4 separate regions of the Homo sapiens genome follow, and regions 1, 2 and 4 are each linked to region 3. The links are contacts of gene promoters, found by promoter capture Hi-C in blood cells and fetal thymus (Javierre and others, 2016). All regions are on one chromosome and are shown on one strand. The core of a region is centred on a gene start or on the middle of the fragment in contact, and the rest is flanking DNA. Distances in the headings are between cores, read along the strand shown.

Region 1 (3,073 bases), core at 499-2,998, 1.0 Mb after region 3:
TCACACCTGTAATCCCAGCACTTTGCGAGGCCTAGGCAGGCGGATCACTTGAGGTCAGGAGTTCGAGACCAGCCTGGCCAACATGGTGAAACCCTATCTCTACTAAAAATAAAAAATTAGCCGAGCATAGTGACAGGCACCTGTAATCCCAGCTACTCGGGGGGCCAAGGCAGGAGAATCGCTTGAACCTGGGAGGCAGAGGTTGCAGTGAGCCCAGATCGTGCCACTGCACTCCAGCCTGGGCGACAGAGCAAGACTCTATCTCTAAATAAAGAAAGAAAGAAATAAGAAAAGAGATCTGACTCCTCTTGCAGGGCTGCCTCTGGAAATACCGAAAATAAGATTAATCTCTTTTCCAAATGAGAAGCTTTCAACTTACCACGGCCCTGGACGTCTCCTCTTTCCCAGGCTAACTATCTTTGCATCCTACAGCCATTTCTCTTGTAAGCTTCACTGGCAGGCCCCCAGTCCTCTGGTGCAGCAGCCTGGGAAGGGCAGCTTCCTCTCGGCCGGCCCGGATTCCAGAGAGAAGGGAGACGATGGAGACGGGAATATGTGTGCTGTGTTCTTCAGAGGGATTCCACATTCAGGACCCCGCTTCCTAACCATAGCCTGGAGATTTCTGAGGAGGCTTCGAAATGATTTAGTTTAACCTCCTGAATTAGTTTCCTAGGGGTGTCATAAAAAATGACCCCAAACTGGGTGGCTTCAAACAACAGAAATGTGTCCTCCCACAGTTCTGGAGGCCGGAAGTCCTACATCACGGCGGCAGGGCTGGTTTCTTCTGCGGCTGTGAGTGGGAATCTCTCCGGGGCTCTCTGCAGCTCCTGGCAGGTGCGGGGAAGCCTGGCTGCTGGATGCATCACTCTAACCTCTGCCTCTGTCTCCACGTGGCCTCCTTCCCCGTGGCTCTGTGTCTTCTCCCCTTCTCTTCTCTTCTAAGGACTCCTGGCATTGGGTTTAGGGCTTACCCTAAACCAGAATGATCTTATCTCGAGATTCTTATCTTAATGACATGGCCCTTGGGCCAACTAGGGGCACACTCTGATGTTCCTGTTGGACATATCTTTTGGAGGTGGCGCCATTTAACCCAGCAGAACTCTTACTTTACAGATAAATGCCATGGGGGGCAAAAGGGGAGTGGCGTGCCCAGGAGTCCCTGCAGAGTTCGCGAGGAACCTGAGCCTCAACAGCCCTGGTCGGCCCTCCCCGCCCTCTCACATGGAGAACACAGAGACACAACCAGGACAGACGATGGTACGCACGGACCCGGCATTGCTGCAAAATGCGAGGCTTCCATGAAGTTCTCAAGTAATTGAAGCTTACCTCTTTAAGGGACAAAATTATGTTCAAAATGCTCTTTTGATAGTAAGCGTTCTAAACCACAGAAACATACTCTCCCAACGTGCTTAAGAGAATACAAGTTTGAAACAGTCCGTCGGCATTTTGTCGGTAACTCAGGGTGGTTGCCGAGGGGCCATTCCGAGCCGGGGCTGGGCTGTGATCCTTCCAGTTCTGCTCGACTGGCTGGGCCGTGGCCCCTGCCTCAGTTGCCCCCACATCGCCGGCTTCTGGACGTGGTGACTGCCAGCTGTTTCCCCCAAGAATTGGCCCTTCTCAGAATGGCAGCCCATTCATTCGCCAGCTCTTAATGGGATGTGTGATGGAATACACTTTGAGGGGGTGGGTGGAGATATTAATCTTTGTTTTGCTTTCTTATTTCTCCCCCTCATCCAATTTCAAGCAGATCACCCGGCTCTTTGTAATTTTTTTGCCTCGGGGATTTTTTTTCCAGGCAGAACGCCAAAGCAGCTCAAAGCCAAAGGCTCTTTCTGTCTTTTGTAAAAACCTAAACCCATTTCATAAAAACCCAAACCCAGGAGGCGAGTGGGAGGGAGAGGGCAAGATTCACTGAGGCTGGGAAAAGGAGGAGGCTGGTGTCCCCAAGGACCTGAGGTCTGAGCACAGCTCCAAGGCACAGCCTGGGAGGGTGGAGCGCACACGGCTGCCCATGTTGTGCCCTGAGGCTCTCATCCCCGGCAAGGATCCCCAGGCATCGGGCAGGGTGGAGGAACAGCCATCAGCCTGAGGGCAGCGGGACTTGCGTGCGAGTGGCACTGAGGCAGTGGTGACAGCTCCCAGCCCTTCAGCTCTTCTGGGCACCATGGAAGCTTCTGGATCCTGGAGGGACTCTAGGAGGGGAGAGAGTTGCATTTTCTGCCAGCCCCACAGGGTGGGGCTCCAAGTTGGGTTTAAGTTGATTTATGTAAACAAAGAAATGAAACTTCCGGATTTCTGGACAGCACGGCCCTACAAGTTCATGCACTGAGGCCTCTTCTCTGCTCCGAATACGCAGCAGCATTAGAGAAAACATATTTCAACAAAACAAGCCAAGCATCACAGACACCAAAAACAGACAGAACAAAACCCGTGGGTGGGGTCTGAGATGGGGCTTCCGGTCCGGAACCAATGTCGGGGAAGTGCTGGCACCTGGTGCAGCCCCCACGGTTGGGAGCAGAGGCCAGCTGACTGCACAGAGAGACCCCCACCCCAGAGAGGGAACAGAAAGAAAATTCCAGCTGAGTGCTTCTCGGGCTTTAGCTTCCACAGATTCAAGGACCAGGAGGTGAGAGGAAGCAGCCTCCTGTCCAGGACCCAGGTAAGGCACCACCAATGCCATTACTCTATTTGTGATTTAGCCGATGCTCTGTGGGACATGAAACCTGGTTCACGGAGGGCATCCCTGGAGGCTGGGCGAAGACCGATGCAAACCCTCAGGGCAGACAGGGTTGAGTGTATGTGAGAGGCGTGGACAGGGAGAGAAGGAGGAGTGTGGAGAGGGACACGGGGGAGAACCACAGCAACAGGAAAATGACCTTAAAGTAAGTTTTTTAGCATCTTAAAGAGGAAAGACAAGAAATAGCCTAAAAAGAGTAATTGGCTATACACAAAACTTGGCAGAAATGAAAAGGATCAGAACTGATGGAAATGGAAAATATCTAATTAGTAAACCTGAAAATTAAAAAGATGCTCATTGAAATAAAAAGGAAACCAGCAAATGCAATAAAATCCT
Region 2 (3,037 bases), core at 359-2,858, 1.0 Mb after region 3:
TTTTGTAATCCAAGTTTCCAGTGTGTCTTTATAAATAATGATGGCAAAAACTAAGAGAAAGGCATTGTGTAATTTGAATCAGTGCCTACAGGGCTAAGTCTCCTAGAGGCCGGATCAGTGAGAGATGATCTGGACAAGCCTTTTGCTGTGACGCTCATCCAAGAGAGCTGTCCTGTGGGAGGACAAGCAGAGCGAGGGCAGCGAATATGATTATTACTGGATTTGATATTGGTGTTTCTTACAATATTTTCAGACATGTGCTTCTCAAACTTTCTGTGATGAAGAACCAGCTTTTTAAAATGTCCAATCCACTGTGGACTGATATTTTCATAAAATACAGGCAAAAATGCCCTGGCCGCATCAAGGGACAGCAAAGTATCTACATGCTTGCTCTCAGTTTCTGCCCAGACTCAAGGGGTAGTTCCAACAGCCATGGCCCTGCAGTGCTTGTGTGGTGTGTTCTTGACCCGGATAAGCTGCAGTGGGGCTCGTGGCTGGCGGACCATCCTCCCTACTCCCCGCCCAGCCGCTGAAGGCCACAGGGTCACTGCTCAGAAGTGGATGTGGCTGTCCAGTCTTCACCGACCCTTCCCGCTGGTGGATGCCTGGACACCCTTAAGCTTCCCGACACTTGGGTCATTTTGTGGTGATGTCATTGGCCACAACATGTGAAATCGAGCAGGTGGCACCAACTCTGACCACGCATCGGCCAACGTCAGCGAGGAAGCATGGCTTGAGCTGTAAATGGTAGCATTTCAGCCATTTCTTCTTCCCAAGTTTGACTGCTTCTCACCTTTGTGATGCACACACACAAAGGTAGAAACATTAGAGAGAGAGAGAACAAAGGGACAGCAGGAACGCCCTCCAGGACTCTGGGCGTGTCCCTGAGGAAAGACCTCTGCAAGCAGCCAGTTTCACCATTTGGGTTTCCGTCTGAGGGGATGTTTACAAACACTGAGCATCCCCAGTCCTTGAATTGAACTCGGCACCAGAGAGGCTTGCGGTGGGAGATGGAAGCCAAGACAGCCCCTGGGTCCTGAGCAATCCCCCGACCCCCAGCCCCAGACTTTATGGCACTACTGGCTAACAAGATAGACACTATGAGTGAAATTGAGGTGGAAAAAAAAATAAGAGGAAAAGAAATCAAGATGAAGCCAAGAATCAAAAGAGAACCACAAATGCACACCAAGTGATCCTGTATAGCTGCTAGGGGTGAGTTGCAAATTAGGCTCTGAGCTTCCTAGCAGTCATAGCAAAGCAGAAACCAGCCTGACCTTAAGATAACAACAGATATTTTTGCCCCACTTCCCTAGAAGCCTTCACAGAGGGAAAAACCTGGGTGCTGTGGGTTCTGCCTTGGGAGCATCATCCCTCCTAGACAATCCCAGAGGCCCACCACAAGCAGGAGCTGTCACTTCTGTGATGCGGAGGCCTGGCATATGGGGGGTCAGAGCCGTCATGGGTGAGTTGCTTGGTTGGTGAGTGGCCGAGCAGGCTCCCAACACCCGCTGGTCACTGTCACTGCCCAGTGGTTTTCTGCACCTCTGTCTTCACAAGCAGCTCTGTGGACTGGATAGGAAATGCACCTCTGACTGGTGCAGCTTTCTGAGGTCGGGAACAGCCTGCCCCAGAGGGAGGCAGGAGGGGGACGGTCTCCAGGAGGCTGCTCTGGGGGCCCGGATTTTCCTTTTGTTTGGTGGCCATCAGGTCCCTGGGGCTCCGCTCCCCTTCACCTCCAGCTTCAGTCCCTTCCTCGGGCACCAACTGGCCTCCCCGACGCGCCCTGCCTTAGAGCCTTGTTCTAGTCCGTGGGGGTTGCCGGCCAGTGACCGCCGCCTCCCACTCTCAGTGTGGCCTCGGAGCCTGAGTTTCCCAGGGCTCTTCTGTCTCACGTGGAGACTGCCCTCCTTGCACCCACAGCTGTTCAACCATGATGCGGTGCTTCCAAGCTGATCACTTCCACTCTCGTTTCTAGAAATTCCTCATTGTCCTTGAGATGGGGAGAGCCTGATCTGTTTTTCCAGCACAGTCAGGGACTAGTTCTTATGTTTCTTCTTCTTCTTCTTCTGTCATTTCACTGGGGCTCAGGGAGGAAGGACATAAACTTGGCTAACATTTTGAAGGGATGTCCCTGTTTTTGCCCTTGAGGGCTCAAAGGATGCTCTCTTCCTGAGTTTCCCCCACAGCAGGGCCTTCACACTGAGGCTGTACAGTGAAAATACAAGACTCCTAACTCTTTAAGCAAGCAAGAAAAAAACCCAAACTTCCCACCCTATTAAGGTGTTCCAATCTTATCTCACGAATGGGAGATTTTTTTGAGGCAGAAGGACCAGAGAAAGTGTCTGGTCCAAGCCTAGAACATTTTAGGAAGGAAGATGGAGGGCATGGCAATTTCTACACTTAGAAAAGTATTAGAGATCATTAAGGAGGTGCACCATGCTTCACAAGGATATTGATGGACTCTGTGTTTCTAATAGTTAAAGAATGGAGGCAGGTTAAATGCCCTCCAAAAAGGTCAGTTTATACAGTAAGAATGGCTCAACTAGGCAGGACTGAAAGGTTAGTGATTTGTGTATTGACTACGTCTGAAAGCTTAATCAACAAAATGTTACCAGCACTTAGCTCTGTGTGGTGAGATGAAAATTATACTTAAATTTTTTTTTGCTTATTTAAAATTGTGCTCCTTAAGTTTTCAACAAAAAATGCATATTGTTTTTTAATAAGAAAAAAGGTTACGAATTTAAATATAACAACCGGTGTTAAGACAAGGTGATGGCGGGGCCGAGGCTAGACCAACTGCATGTGCAAAATCCACAGCAGCGCATGACTGGGGCTGATCATCTGTGTCTCCAAGTGGCTTTGCGGGGAACCCTCAGGGACTTTCCCAGAAAGTTTCCCACCAGGTGATGGTGCTTTCGAGTGCTGGGTGCTCAGCAACTGCTGTGAAGGCACAGAGGCAGTGCCTGCCTGCAGGATGCTTCCAGTCCAGTGAGGGACAGACAGGAGGGCCCAACCTGGAGCAAAGTTTAGGGTGGCC
Region 3 (3,051 bases), core at 88-2,587:
GGTTAAAAGCACAAGAACCAAAGCTCACTACCCCCACCGCCAGCTCTCCCCAGCAAACCCAGTCAACAGGTGGGGGCTGCTGGCCTTCCAAGGAGCTCCTGTGGACCCCAACTTTCCTCCTTGTGGACTTTAAAGCCCCCTGTGGCCACTCAGCTGGGAAGAGGACACAGTCACCACCCTGGATGGTGTCTAGAGAGGCTACATTCAGACTCACATCTTGAGACCCCTTTAATGGCAGGGGTTCTTATTGCTTTTGTTTTGGGGAGACAGTAGGCGGTGACTGGAGTGAGTAGTAAATGCTTGTGAAATTGATCCTAAACTCTGAACTGCACGCTGGCATTTTAAGGCAGGGAATGGCCATGCCGCCCCAGTGGATGATCTTGGGTTCCCACAGAATGCTCACCCTAGACGGCAGGAGTACAGGTGCGTTTCCAAGTGTAAACCTGTCCCTGGGCAATTCCCTTCTAGAAGTTTGTTTTTCAGCCTGCAACTCTTCCATGAACTCGACTTGTCTAGCCAACCCCCTACACGTCACCATGAGGCTCTCCAGTAAGTGCCGCGCACCACGCCTCCCCAGCACAGACTCCAGATTATTCGGCACCCACCTGGCCCTCTCCTAGTCTTCTCATCAATTTTTAGCATCCTGGGCCAGAAACCTGGGGTCACCCTCCCCAGCTGTGAGCTGGTGGAAGTCTGCCATTCAACCCACCTAGACTGCCAATGAAAAGAACCACCAGATGCCCTGTGGGGCAAGGGGCTGTGGCTACCCTCTCTCTCCCCCACCTGTGGACCAGGTCCCCCAGAGCCAGGCAGCCCTTTCCTGGGAGCCCTCCCTGCATTCCTCCGGCTGGTTAGCCCAGTTTGGGGTTCTGCCCTGGTAGGCTGATAGCCCCTCACCTCATGCCGAGGCTGCTGCCCCGACTTGCAGGAACCCTCAGATGAAGGACCCTAAGGAGGGCCAGCTCTGTGTCCATGCCCACTTGGATCTTGAGAGCTGCCCCAGGCACGTGTGGACTGGTAGTGCCCCTGGACTCAGAGCTTTGGGTTTTGCCCACCCTGGAGCTGCCCGGCTCTGTTCCTCAGCATATACTCTCTTCCTCATTCCTACTTCATGGTTATATGTAAATGCAAGCACACAGAAGTTTTCTACTTTAAAACTCAGAAGATCAGCAGATCACTGCTCTCTCCTGGTGCTCTGGGGAGCCACGTGGCCTCTCTTTGCACCAAAACTCCCCATCCAAGTCCAGCTCCACTCTCTCTCTGCCTCAGCTGCCCTGCAGCCCTTTCCTCTTGCTCTTTGATGTTTTGTAGGCCTGCAGCTCCCAAGCACAGAGGCATGAGTGGGGAGAATGTCACCAAGGTCAGCACCTTCATCCTGGTGGGCCTCCCCACGGCCCCAGGGCTGCAGTACCTGCTCTTCCTCCTCTTCCTGCTCACCTACCTCTTTGTCCTGGTGGAGAACCTGGCCATCATCCTCATCGTCTGGAGCAGCACCTCCCTCCACAGGCCCATGTACTACTTTCTGAGCTCCATGTCTTTCCTGGAGATCTGGTACGTGTCTGACATCACCCCCAAGATGCTGGAGGGCTTCCTCCTCCAGCAGAAACGCATCTCTTTCGTCGGGTGCATGACGCAGCTCTACTTCTTCAGCTCCCTGGTGTGCACCGAGTGTGTGCTTCTGGCCTCCATGGCCTACGACCGCTACGTGGCCATCTGCCACCCGCTGCGCTACCACGTCCTTGTGACCCCGGGGCTGTGCCTCCAGCTGGTGGGCTTCTCCTTTGTGAGTGGCTTCACCATCTCCATGATCAAGGTCTGTTTTATCTCCAGCGTCACGTTCTGTGGCTCCAACGTCTTGAACCACTTCTTCTGTGACATTTCCCCCATCCTCAAGCTGGCCTGCACGGACTTCTCCACTGCAGAGCTGGTGGATTTCATCCTGGCCTTCATCATCCTGGTGTTTCCGCTCCTGGCCACCATACTGTCATATTGGCACATCACCCTGGCTGTCCTGCGCATCCCCTCGGCCACCGGCTGCTGGAGAGCCTTCTCTACCTGCGCCTCTCACCTCACCGTGGTCACCGTCTTCTATACAGCCTTGCTTTTCATGTATGTCCGGCCCCAAGCCATTGATTCCCAGAGCTCCAACAAGCTCATCTCTGCCGTGTACACTGTTGTCACGCCAATAATTAACCCTTTGATTTACTGCCTGAGGAACAAGGAATTTAAGGACGCCTTGAAAAAGGCCTTGGGCTTGGGTCAAACTTCACACTAAGACAACTAAATGTCCTAGAGTAAAATCTGTAGTGATGAAACAACATTGTATGTGGCACTTTGTGCTCTTTAAATTAATTTTTAAGTTAAATTTAACAAACCTACAGAACTAAGTGAAATTTAACAAACCTACACAACTGTGCACAAGTAACAAGCCTTCGTCTGCATATGTTTTCACAAAAGGACTGTGCTCATGGAACCAGCTCCCAGATCAAGAACTAGAAGCTGCCTTCACGCCCTCTCCCAGTCATTAACCCTTCTCCACAAAAAGCACTGTCCTGACTTCCAAAACCAGATGCTAGCATTGGTGTTTCTGAGGGGCTTACACATAAAGTATGTGCCCTGTTATGTTCAGCTTCTTTCATTCACCGTGTTGCTTGAGTGAATCCTTGATGTTTTTGCATGTAACAATAATTCATGCATTCTCATTGCTATCCAATATTCATAATAAATAATACATTTATACTGTATAATACACAATGCATAATACATTCATACTGGGATAATACATATACTGGGATAATGCATATACTGTATTGTGTATTATATATACATAATACATTATGCTGGGTGAAACCCTGTCCCACCTGTCCCAGCAGGTGTGAGCCACTGTGCTCATCCATAATTTATGCATCTAAACACAGATAAGGTAAGTCAAAATATAATGTCATAATCTTATGGGACCACCATCTTATGTGCCGTTCAGTTCATCATTCACCAAATGTCATTGTGTGGTGCACTACTGCGTCAGTTGAGAATATTTGTGCTGGCTTATTT
Region 4 (3,101 bases), core at 433-2,932, 1.0 Mb after region 3:
TTGCTTTTTCATAACACCTCTACCCCTCTTCTCATTCAGTTCACATGGTTTATTTTACATTTGGCAGTTCCGGGGCCTGCCCACCCTAGGAATAGATGCTGTGATTTCTTCTTTGAGCCTCTGCAACTCCTCAAGCCTGACTTAGAGCATCCTCAAGTCACAAGAGAGAAACAAAGGACGGAAAGACGCAAAGGACGCTTGCTGGCTTTCTCTTTTAAACGCCTGGCTGACCACATCCCCGACTCTGGGCTGAGCCAGGGCCCGAGGCTGGCCCCAGGCGCTGCCCGGAGCGGGAGGCAGAGCTTACGCCTTGCATCTTGCCTGATGACAGACCTCAGACAATTTCTGGGGCAGAGGAAAAGAGCATAATAAGCTTAATTTCAGCATTGTAAAGGTTATTATTATAATCATTTCCCTCTGAAGAATTGTAAATAATTCATTTGCAAAACTCTAGTTGAAGTCTCTAATTAGATTCTCCTTGGGCTCTTACAAAGCTCCTTCCGCCTCCAGTTGCGAAATCCATCTAGTTTGTTTTTTGTTTTGTTTTGTTTTGACCGTCTCTCCATTCAGCATGCTAAGAAATCAGCCTCATATTGTTTTCTTGTGTTCTCAAATTATGTTTCAATGGTGTGTCCTGCCTGTCCCCTCACCAGGGATGCTTGCGGGAGGGGAGGATGCAAGGGGGTGAGAAGGGCATTCTTGTTAGGCCACATTTATGCTCCTCTCTCGGGGTCGTGAGGCGTCCCGGGAGTCAGATGCTCTGGTCCCTGCCTGCCCTCTGATCTCCACGCCTGAACCCGGCAGAAGAGGGAGGGTCTCCTCAGGAGCGGGACAGAGCCTTCCACAGTGACCCCAGGCTTTACCGGCTCTAAAATCCAGGGCTGTCTCTACTGGGGCTAACGCAGTAGGCGCGGGTCTCTGATGCATCAGAAAATGTCCCTGCCTCTGTCTTCCTCGTCCTCCAGATCCTTCTCCTGAGGCCACAAGTGAGCGTCCCCAGGTGCACTTAGAGAACTGCGGCAGGTGCCAGTGCAGACGGCAGGTGACGCTGCCAGAGGAAGGAGAGAGGGTTTCTCAGGGCGGCGTCCACCTCAAGGGTGGAGGGTCTGGGGGTGTGCAGGGCGTGGACTGGGGAGTGTCAGACTGGCCCTGTTTCCACCTGAAGAGGACAAATGTGGCTGCGCGTCGGCACAGGTGTCCAGGAGGGGCTCTTGGAGGGGTCTCTAGGGAACACTGACCCGGACTGTGTGTCCTGGAGCTCTGCGGTCGCCCCATGCGCCTGCTCCCTGGGCCTGCCTGAACCCGCGCCCCGCCGAGCCCCCAGACCCTGCCTGAGCCGACCCGCCCTGAGCTTGGAGCCCTCCGCGCAAGGAGACAGCCCCAGGGGAGCGAGAGCGAGCCTTGCTTCCCAAATGGCCGGGGATAGTTTTGAATTTAGGGGTGGGTGTGTGTGCCAGGAAGAAGGTAACTTGAGCACGTCCTGGGTCACCGAGAGGGTCCCTGCATTTGGACCTTGGGGCCGTTGGTTGCGCAGGGCAGGTGAGGCCAGGGGCTTAGACCAGGGCCTGGATCCCAGCGAGCCAGGGAAGAGCAGGGCGGCCCCGCGCAGAGGCTGAGGCGCCTGCCCTGGGGCTGGGACCCTGCACGCATCTCCCACCACCTGAGGCAGGGGTCCCACCATTCTGTGGGCGAGCCTGGGTTTTAGCCAGCCGACCCCTCCCCCGCACGTCCCCTCCTTGCTGTGGATCTGAGAGGATGCGCCGGCGCAGGGATGAGAAAGAGGCAGCCCGCGTGGAGAGGCAGCGGGGCCGGACTGCAGGGAGTGGACTCCTCTTGGAGGAAGAAGGCGGCAGCGAGGACATCGCTACTGCCTTTGTTCCCACTGGGAAGGGGCGGGCCGGGAGCTGAACCAAGGTTAGAGGGCGATGGAGAGGGGAGCGAGGGCCCCAGTGTGCCAGGCCCAAGCCTCCCAGGAGAGCTGTCCGGCGGCCCCGACAGGCTGGAGTGCAGCCTTCCCTCCGCAGGCCTAGGGCTGCGCTGCTGGAAGCCCCGGGGCTCTGCCAGCCAGGGTGTAGCCTGGCTCACTGCAGCACCACGAGCCGAGGGACCCTTCCTGGTACAGGTTTTGTCTCGGAGCTTTCTTGGGAGGGAGGGAGTCGTTCCCCGGTGTGACGCAGGTGACCTTGGTGGATCCTCCCGAAGGCCACGTGAGCACCGCTGCAGGAGCTCTGTAGGGACGGGTTGAATGGCTGTGGCAGCGGAGAGGTTAAATTAGGAGATTCATATTGACCCCCCTAAAAAGTACTGTCCCTTGAACGGTCGCTCAGTAGAACAGGGTCTTCTTGGCTCTGCAGCAGCCCCGTGGAGCCTGGGATGAGCGGTCCTGAAGTTTGAGCAATTGCAAGGGCGAGGTCAGGGGGCGCTGGGGACCCTGCCTCCCAGCAGGAGGGGAAAGACCCTCCCTGAGGGGCCCGCGCGGGCTTTGATTGTGTGCCCAGACTGAACACGTCCATCCTGGGTAACCTCTGGGGTAAATACTCAAACTCCCTGGGCCCCAGCTCTATGGTGGGGCCTCCCGCTGAGCGCCAGGGGCCGGCAGCCCCCATCCCCACATTCCTGTTCGGTTTTTGTGTTGCGCCCCTGACATTTGTGTCTCTCCCGAGGCCCACCTCGCCTGTTTTTACGAGATGGCTGGACGTGGGAAGGCCCACGCTTGGACGCTGGCTTTGTCCTTTCTGGTATGAAGATAGCTGGCTTGCGAGTTAGTAAACTCATAAACTTGGTCTTATAAACACTCATCATTCCAAATGTGACATCACCTCTATGTACATACATCTTCTTAAACCCAAATATGCAAAAATACCTCCCAAGCAGCTGCCACATTGCAGAGAATTTAATTAAAGGAAAGGCCCCTTTTGGAAATGTGTTTATTTTACCATAAAAAGGGATGGAGTTGCCCTTTCTGGAAGTTTTTCTCTCTAATTAAGCTTAGCCCTGATTACCGCTCTGGAGGTGGCACCCGTAGGAGTCCTGGAGGGAATGTCTCTGGGCTGATAAAACCCAGGACAGTTCAATGAAAGCCAACACAAACGGACTCAAAA

What was found. Contacts are between HindIII fragments. The CHiCAGO score rates a contact against its expected background, and 5 or more counts as called.
Region 1: a contact is called between a fragment that was not itself captured here and the fragment with the promoter of OR6B2 in region 3, in 1 of 17 cell types (M0 macrophages). The highest score is 5.0, in M0 macrophages.
Region 2: a fragment that was not itself captured here is called in contact with the fragment with the promoter of OR6B2 in region 3 in 2 of 17 cell types (M0 macrophages and M2 macrophages); the score reaches 6.1 in M0 macrophages.
Region 4: a contact is called between a fragment that was not itself captured here and the fragment with the promoter of OR6B2 in region 3, in 1 of 17 cell types (M0 macrophages). The highest score is 6.3, in M0 macrophages.

Annotation. Positions count from the first base shown.
Region 1 is chr2:239,002,213-239,005,285 of GRCh38, reverse strand. No RefSeq gene overlaps it. Among named protein-coding and RNA genes, the nearest start is that of MIR4440, 65 kb to the left of the region's middle. The HindIII fragment of the contact is 850 bases long and covers 1,324-2,173 here.
Region 2 is chr2:239,019,379-239,022,415 of GRCh38, reverse strand. No RefSeq gene overlaps it. Among named protein-coding and RNA genes, the nearest start is that of MIR4440, 48 kb to the left of the region's middle. The HindIII fragment of the contact is 1,972 bases long and covers 623-2,594 here.
Region 3 is chr2:240,028,715-240,031,765 of GRCh38, reverse strand. It overlaps OR6B2 (olfactory receptor family 6 subfamily B member 2), which reads left to right and starts at 1,337. Exons shown (of 1, transcript NM_001005853.1): 1 at 1,337-2,275. The coding sequence starts at 1,337. The coding sequence ends at 2,275. The HindIII fragment of the contact is 5,761 bases long and covers 1-3,051 here.
Region 4 is chr2:238,984,913-238,988,013 of GRCh38, reverse strand. No RefSeq gene overlaps it. Among named protein-coding and RNA genes, the nearest start is that of LINC01940, 60 kb to the right of the region's middle. RefSeq lists enhancers at 1,071-2,051, 2,052-3,034. The HindIII fragment of the contact is 2,614 bases long and covers 376-2,989 here.